3 separate regions of the Homo sapiens genome follow, and regions 2 and 3 are each linked to region 1. Evidence: promoter capture Hi-C in 16 types of primary human blood cells and fetal thymus (Javierre and others, 2016). All regions are on one chromosome and are shown on one strand. Each heading gives the region's core, a stretch centred on a gene start or on the middle of the fragment in contact. The rest is flanking DNA. Distances are from core to core; before and after follow the strand shown.

What was found. The method cuts DNA at HindIII sites, captures the fragments that hold promoters and counts their contacts. A CHiCAGO score of 5 or more calls a contact.
Region 2: the fragment with the promoter of MRPS28 here is called in contact with the fragment with the promoter of PEX2 in region 1 in 8 of 17 cell types (total CD8 T cells, non-activated CD4 T cells, naive CD8 T cells and 5 more); the score reaches 13.3 in total CD8 T cells.
Region 3: a contact is called between a fragment that was not itself captured here and the fragment with the promoter of PEX2 in region 1, in 3 of 17 cell types (total B cells, non-activated CD4 T cells and naive B cells). The highest score is 10.6, in total B cells.

The regions. Positions count from the first base shown.
Region 1 is chr8:76,998,574-77,001,529 of GRCh38, reverse strand. It overlaps PEX2 (peroxisomal biogenesis factor 2), which reads left to right and starts at 1,452. Exons shown (of 4, transcript NM_000318.3): 1 at 1,452-1,540. RefSeq lists an enhancer at 1,163-1,457. The HindIII fragment of the contact is 1,935 bases long and covers 1-1,481 here.
Region 2 is chr8:80,028,934-80,031,633 of GRCh38, reverse strand. MRPS28 (mitochondrial ribosomal protein S28) reads left to right here and starts at 1,375. Exons shown (of 3, transcript NM_014018.3): 1 at 1,375-1,598. The coding sequence starts at 1,386. The region is part of intron 5 of TPD52-MRPS28 (TPD52-MRPS28 readthrough); the gene reads left to right. It also overlaps a transcript of TPD52 not described here. RefSeq lists an enhancer at 1,223-1,652. The HindIII fragment of the contact is 3,845 bases long and covers 372-2,700 here.
Region 3 is chr8:81,717,939-81,720,638 of GRCh38, reverse strand. It overlaps ZFAND1 (zinc finger AN1-type containing 1), which reads left to right. Exons shown (of 8, transcript NM_024699.3): 2 at 2,415-2,457. Among named protein-coding and RNA genes, the nearest start is that of ZFAND1, 2.0 kb to the left of the region's middle. RefSeq lists an enhancer at 1-305. The HindIII fragment of the contact is 1,170 bases long and covers 730-1,899 here.

The DNA.
Region 1 (2,956 bases), core at 203-2,702:
GAAGCCACGTAATTTAAAATTTTCCAAAACATTCTCATTTTGACATGTAAGCAATATAAAATTAATGAAATACTTTACATTCTTTTTCTTTTCAGACCACGCTTTAGAAATCTGGTGCATGTTCTACACTTAGAGCAGACCTCAGTTCAGACTAGCCACTTTTCAGGTGGCCAGTGACTACTACACTGGACAGTTGCAGCTCTAGAAAATCCACTCCCAAACCCCTAAGTGAACTACATACTCTATCAATTTGTAGCTTCTACTCTATCTCATTTGTACCATTGTTTCACAATTTGGATAGCATTAGAGTTAATAAATTTTATTTTAGCAACTCTGCTCCATGGGTAGTTTCTGAAATAAAAATACAAGCAAAAAAAAAAAAACTTTCCTAATAACACTGGTTCTACAGTATAAGCTCTCCCTCGAATGTCTAATAGAGCTTTCGTAGAAGTGAGTGTTCCTTGTAGGAACGGTGAGTCGAGACTGGAGGTAAGAACTAAGACGTTCTTAAACCCTACTACGTGCTGGAATCCTGAAGTGCCTGCCATCATTCAAACTTAAGCACTAACTCTCTAGAGAGACACTGCCATTCATACCACAGAACGAGAAGGCAGTGGCGATCCTCAACGGCTACATGTCACTGCCTGGTGAGCACTCTTCCCTCAGACCCCATTCCCAGAAGCTCTGCCTCGATTCCCCAGGGGTAGGCGAGCTGGCTGCCCGAATTCCTAAGCGTTACCGGGGAGATGTGAGGGCCTCCGGGGGCGGGAAACCTCAGGCCAGGCGCGCGCTGGCCCGCTCTACGGGGTCTCTCGGGAGCGCTTTGCAGGGCGGATGACTGACGGGCCAGCTACCTGCCTTCCTGAGCCTGCAGAGATAAACAGCCTATCCTCCCTGTGCACACAGGCCCCGAGGGCGGGCAGGTCTCCAAGCGCAGCACAACTGCCCCAGGCCCGACGCAGCCACCTGCCCGAGGGCTCCCTCCCCACCAGGCCATCCCTCAGCCGGTCCTCCTCCGACAGCGAACAAGGAACCCCGGAGGCGCGGAGGCGTCTCGCCGCCACCCGGCGGCGCCTGCCAGAGGCCCTTCGCGATGTCCGCAAGCAGAGAAAGCCCTGCCCTCCCAAGCCCCGGCTTCCCCTAGGCCCCTCGACACTTGTAGTGTCCTCACTTGCGGCCCCTGACCCGGGGCTGACCGGTTCGTGACTCTCCTGCCAATCAGAGACAGAGTTCTTCCGGCCAACCGGCCAATCACCGCGCGCGGGTGTCCGCTTCGGCTTTTCGGCCCTTCGGCTCTTCGGCTTGTCGGCGTTCGCGGTTGTTTGGCCATCCAGTGCCTTCAGCAGCGCCGCTAAAGCGCAGTTCTCGTTGGTGTAACTTTTTCTTTTTTTTTTCAGCCACTTCCGGCTCCTGCGTCGCTCCGGAAGCCTGCGAGTTCCGGAAGCCTTGGTAATCCAGATTCGGCTAGGAAAAGACAAGCTTTCCAGAGAATGTTTCAGAGAAAGTTACGTGGAGCGTGGGCGTTTCGCAGACTCCTAAGGTCAGTGTCTGCCCTAGAGAGCCGGAGTGCAAACCCGAGGTCTTGTTTTCAGCTGGGAGGTCGTGGAGTTTCACGACCTTGTAATTGTCGCCGTTTGCTTTTTTTTCCCTGTTTATTGGCTTCCTGTCTCCCTGGAAAAGGCAAATCAAAGCTGCTGAATTTTGGGAAAGGCAGTGAAGCAAACCTAAACTCCTAAAGATGTTTTTAGGATCGCGGCATTAAAAATAAACACACACACAGCTGCAGTTGAGCCCCTCTGCATTCCACGTAGTAACTTAAGAGACGAACTTCGAAATCTTTTTCTCTCATTTGGCGGTCGTGAAGATATTTACCTCTTATAAACGGCTTTATAAAGAATTGAGGATCCAAACTTTACTTAATATCTGAAAGTTCATGTAAAGTGTTATATGTAGTACAAAAAATTTGAGTGCTTAGTTTTCTAACACTGTTGAAAGCGCACGTAAATGCAGTTTGGTTTTCTTATGGAGGAAGAGATAATGAAAAGTTTCTGATAAAATTGCTTGCGATAAATTAGTTATATTTCACGTTGACTTTTGATAAGAAATCTGAATGTGAGAATTGTTAACATTTTTTCCTGGGTTCTTAAATTAAAAATCGTTGTTTGTTTATTTATTGAGGTACCATTTTCCAAATTTCCCACATTTAGTGAAAGGGCTTTTGGCAAAATGAGCAAGCTGTTGAACGTTCAAGTCTAACACATTCTGTTAAACTTCCGTGATGCCCCTCGGAAATATTTTATCTTGACGTTTCGGACAATTAAATGATACTTGGGCGCTCACAACACCGCAGCTTGTAGTCTAAACACCTTCCCCTAAAGTGTTACCTTTACTTAATCCTGAACAGAATGAACTTGGGGTGGCTCTTTTAACTTATCTGATCTCACCTATATTATCAATTACTTGTTTCCAGAAAGATTACAGTTGAGTGATCTTGAGCCAGAAAGAGATTTGAAAGAATTATTTACAGAGTCAAAAAAAAAAACCCTTCATATTTTTTTCTTAAAAAAAAAAATAGAAGTAACAGGACATAGAGCGAATACTAGACTAGTAGACTGAAGAGTATTAGACTAAATCAAGACAGTTGGATTCTAGTCCTGACTCTAGTTGCCTTTGTACAATTTTACCTCTTGGCCGTATTCTCCTTATTTTTAGAAACTAGTGTTAGTACTCAAGCTGGGGTTTTAAAACTGTTCCATAGGAGAACTTGTGTAGAAATTTTCTGGAGCCGTGCAGGGAGAGACAAAGCAAGCCCACCCTCAGGTTTATTTTAACAAGAGCAGCCATTTAGGTGTTCCGCTTGAATAACAAGGTTCTTGTTAAGAAGATTAAATTTATGTCTTAAACGAGATGATCTGCCTTTTCTTCTAGCATTAAAATTCTGGTTTTTGGGATAATT
Region 2 (2,700 bases), core at 126-2,625, 3.0 Mb before region 1:
CTCCCTCCTCAACCTCACAAAGTGCTGGGATTACAAGTGTAAGCCACCCTGCCCAGTCAGACTGAGGGTTCTTGAAGACCACTGGCCATGCTCTTTACAATTTACCACACTTTCTCCTGAAAAAAAGTGGAAGTAGCACTATCCGTAGAAAATAATGTTCTAGGCAAGAGTCCATTAATAGTCTCGGGAGATAAACAGTTTTAACTGCCAAGAGGGAGAACTCACCTGGAGAATTTAATGAATTTGTAAGGACTACCATACAGTTAGCTAGTAATAATTTTATGTGATTCATACAATTGTGCACCATTCTGAGATCAGTGTACTTCGTGTTCTTAACACTATCTGTACCATTAGAGAGCATCAGAAAAGCTTAAAACCCATAGTCAAGGCATTCTTAAAATAGGGTCTGTGATCATAAAAATTCTTTCTCTCGAAGTACTTGCAAATGAACTGGAAAGGTGTGTGCCCCCAAAATAAAACTAACTGTGGATTAATATTAAACTGCTGGGTCAAAGATAGACGGACAACTAATTAATAAACACTTAAGAATGATGTTAGGCTGTTTTGAACAGGGTGGGTAAATTTTGGGAATTAACACTGCAGGAGAAAAGGGAAAGAAAATCCAGAGTGAGGGTGGGGGCCTACGGCGGTGCAATACTTAGGGACATTCCAAAACTTCTGAACTCCTAAGTTAGATAATAGGTATCTAGAGGTGTCAAAACATTTCAGAAAAACTATTTTTGTGGCGTGAGTGGACTGGCTGCAGAAGTGGCAAAGGACAAACTTGGATGCAGGGTTTGGCAAATGTTGGGTGAGCCCTAATCTGTGCCTGGTGCTAGGGACCCTACAGCAAAGTTCCTCTTTTCAAAGTTTAAAAAGTTGGGAGTAGACACTAAATATTATTAAATATTTAATATTAATATGTGGCATATTAGAAAGTGCTACATGGTACTAAGAAAAACAGGTGCCAGAGAGTCTGCATTTGGGCTTCCACTTCTAAATAGGGTAATCAAGGAGACCCTCATATTTGAGTGAAGACCCCAAACTCGAGTGCTGGCGGCCATGTAGGGGGGACGGCAGGGCGGGAGAACGAGCGTCGCGTTAGCAGAATTTACAGTACAATGGGGTCCAACGGATGCCCAGGAAGGCGAAATTCCTGCAAGTTAAACGCACTTCTAACGCAAAACTTAACCAGGCCCCTTTCCAACTATTTAGCCCACCAATTTTAGCTTAAGTCTCTTCTTCCCCACGCCACTCCCAGATGAAAGGAAGACACGCCTCGTTGGCCTCCAGAGCTCTGCGTCCGGGGGGCGGACCTCTCATAGCTCCGCCCCGTGACCCGCGCGCTTGCGGAGGGGAGGTCAAAGGTCAGAGGTAAAGAAGTCATGGCGGCGCTGTGTCGGACCCGTGCTGTGGCTGCCGAGAGCCATTTTCTGCGAGTGTTTCTCTTCTTCAGGCCCTTTCGGGGTGTAGGCACTGAGAGTGGATCCGAAAGTGGTAGTTCCAATGCCAAGGAGCCTAAGACGCGCGCAGGCGGTTTCGCGAGCGCGTTGGAGCGGCACTCGGAGCTTCTACAGAAGGTGGAGCCCCTACAGAAGGTGGAGCCCGGGCGGGTGAGAGGGAGTCGCGGGAATTACGCCAACGACGCGGTGGGCGGGGTCGGGAATAGGGGCGGAGCCTGGCTTAGGAAGGGGAGCTGAGGTCCGGGGCCCAGTTTTCCGGAGTTGCGGTGCGTTGTGGCTCAGCCCTCGGCCCCTAGAATCTGTGCTTGGTGTTTTTCTTCCTTTCGTTGTCCTTTTGTGTGGCATTTGCGTACTGGGCCGGGTCTGTCCACACTGCGCTTGTTTTCCTGGGATTGAATGCTGGTGGGAAGGTAACCAGCGGGGAGCGCTGCTGGGGAGGCGATCTAGGGCGATTCCTGGGACGCTAAGGAGAATGGGACTCACACGGAGAGGCAGGGCTCTGCTGGGTCTTGTTCTGAACAGTAGCTCTAGCATGGAGCTTGCTGTCTGGAGTAGAAGGCCCTTCATAAACATTTGTTAATTTAATGACTGGGTGATGAATCACTTTCTGAACTTGGGCAAGTGATTTAACTTGTCAGCGCTTCACCTCTCTTTTGTAAATGTCTTCTTTTTTTAAAAAGTAAAGTAAAATCTCCGTTTGTCTCAGCCAGTACTTTTGTAAAATACCATAAATTTATAGATAAATGAAATGGAAGAAATAAAATTACAAGCCTAAGTTTTTAATAATTAAACTCAGCAGACATGAAATTGAATTATATACAAATAAACTCTCAATTTCTGTATTTTTCTTCCTAGGGAGTAGTACCAAACAGTTCACAAGACTGGCAGTGTCCTGGGTTATAGGGTCATTTTAGTAGCAATTACTGATGTCAAAATTTTTCTGAAATCCAAGGACTAGAAGAAGCCTGGTATATTAGTTTATTATTTTCTGTTGTAACAAATTACTACAAATTTAGTGGCGTAAAACACAGGAAATGTGTTGTTGTTAGGGTTGTGAGAAGTCAGACGGGATCTCACTGGTCTAAAATCAAGGTGTTGGTGAAGTTGTGTTCTTTTCCGTAGCTTCTAGGAGAATCTCTTCCTGGCCTGTCTTTTCTGCCTCTGTTTTCTACTTTTTTGTTTTTTGGATTTTTTTGTTTGTTTTGTTGTTTTTTGAGACAGGGTCTCGCTCTGTCAC
Region 3 (2,700 bases), core at 65-2,564, 4.7 Mb before region 1:
GGAGGAGTTGGGGGAGGTCAACTCGCCCAACTAGTGTTCACGTGGATGTGTGTCCGGAAGAAGGCCCTTCCTTAGCTTTTATCAAATTCTCAAAGGCATCCTGATCCTCAGATTATTCCACCAAATGGTCATCATGCTCTCCCAGCTCTGTCATTCCCTGATTCTCATTATTATTGTTTGAACAAACATTTACAGATTATTGATTTTGGTGCTTGGACCACATAAGGGTGTAAACTACAGTCTTTTACACGGAAGACCTTTCCAACTAGTAAGCTGCATTTTAGAGAGAATTAGTTAATAATATGGCAATGGGCTCTCCCCATTGCACTGAGAGACCTTGGGATATACCTAGTCCAAGGTGATGTGGCATTGGCTTCAGGATGCCATACACCTTGAAAAGGCAAGTTTTTGAAGCATTAGAACCACACAGACTGCTCAGTCGTTGTTACTAGGTTTCACACACTACATAAGGTAGCAAACAGGTTTAATCTCCCCTTGGAACTTCAGTCATTGGTATCAAGTGCCTGAATTACCGTGTCAAAGACTCTTGAGATTTAGCCCAGTTTCAGTGGAGTTCCATAATTGATTAGTGATTTCTACTGTGGGAATGCGTGATAGGACAGGTGACACAATCCCTTCTAGGTTCTTGTTACTTATAGCCATCTATCTATCTATCTTTCACCACTGGCTGTAATAACAAGCCAGTGTGACTTTTTTCATGTGGAAGCTTAGCCATTTGGGTTTTGACTGTGAATTATGTGTGTCTATGCCTGATCCTTCGCTAGTGAGTCCAATACACATTATATGCCATTCATGACATAGTTCATTTTCCTTTCCAGCTATATATGTCTTTAGTGTCAATAACTGAGATGAGGCCAGGCCTATCTGTTTGGGACTAGTGGAAAGCAGTTAAGATTTAGACTACGTCAAGTGTATATCCTAAATTTTATCTACCTTCTGGAGGGATTGAAGGATGGTATCAGGTGCTGGGAAGTTGTCTTGACTTAACTCTTTCCCCTGGGTCCTTCTGGTTTGCATCTAATACTTGATTATTAAAAGTCGCAAAATATTAAGCATCTCCACCCAGTCACTGCAGTATTGTCCTTTTTTGTTTGTTTGTTTGTTTTGTTTTGAGATGGAGTCTGGCTCTGTCACCCAGGATGGAGTGCAGTGGCGCGATCTCGGCCCTCTGCAACCTCTGCCTCCTGAATTCAAGCGATTCTCCTGCCTCAGCCTCTTGAGTAGCTGGAATTACAGGCATGAACCACCACGCCCAGCTAATTTGTGTGTGTGTGTGTGTGTGTGTGTGTGTGTGTGTGTGTGTGTGTTTTCAGTAGAGATGGGGTTTCGCCATGTTGGCCAGGCTGTTTTCAAACTCTTGACCTCAGGTGATCCGCCCCCCTCGGCCTCCCAAAGTGCTGGGATTACAGGCTTAAGCCACTGTGCCTGGCCCCTTGCAGTACTGTTCTGAGTTGAGTATACTCAAAAGAAGTTAATTGTTGTATTATTCTTATTAATTATAGTTACTGTATTACTATTCTGATCTTTCATATATATCTCATTTGGTTTCTGTAAGTACACTGTGAGGTCGGTGTGGCATACAGCATAGATACAGATATAGATACACATGCATACACACATATACATATATACACAGAAAGGATGTGCTTGTATCTTTATATCTGTCTCTGTATCTACCTGTCTATATCTTTCTATTTTTCTTACCCAATAAAAGAGCTTTGGTTTTGTATATGTTTATTTACATACATATATAGAAACACACACACATATACTTTATACTAACTGTACTATATATTACATCAAATTATATATATTTGAAATACCATAAATCTTATAGGTGTATATATAAATATAAATATATTTGAATATAGTCAAGCTTTGGCGATATATATATATATATGTTGTTCACACACATATATATTAGTACACAGATATAAATATATATATTTATTGGATATATATAAAAATATATATATCCAAAGTTTTACTGTTAAGTAACTTGCCTAGCACTGTTAGATTAGTAAGCAGTGGAATCAGAATTGAATCCCAGGTTTTTCACTCCAAATGCGGAATTTTTGCAGTATACAGTCATCAAAAACAACACCTAGTAAATCTGGGAAACAAAACAAAAAAGAAAAAGAAAACCACTAGAACTTATTTTTGTCTGACTTAGTAAAGTTACAAGTAACATCTATTAATACCTTATGTTAATCCAATTACTTTCTGTCAGTTATTGAAGTTGTGATTAATTTTGTTAGAGTGGTTACATAGTGCTTGCTACACTAGGATATTAGTCAAAATGGGAAGTTTTTCCATAGAGGTTGTCTTCTTGCTTAAGAAAACTAAATCAAAATCAGATACTGACCAGTATATACATTTTCTCTCAATTTTAGATTTTCTTCCATTTGTGTGTGATGATTGTTCAGGAATATTTTGGTAAGTTAAGTTTTTATGCAGGATTTGGGAGTAATTTTAGTGTTTATTAATATGAGGTTATTTCTGAAAAGTAGAATGATTTAAAATAATTGTTACTTTAGCCATTGATTATTGATATTCAGTATAGTTATAGACTCTGATTACTTCTCCATATATATGACTGATTTTTAAACTTCCAAAAGTGGGGTTATGTATGTGAATTTTATATAAAAGTTATATTTTTGTCTTTTAATTACAAGGAGA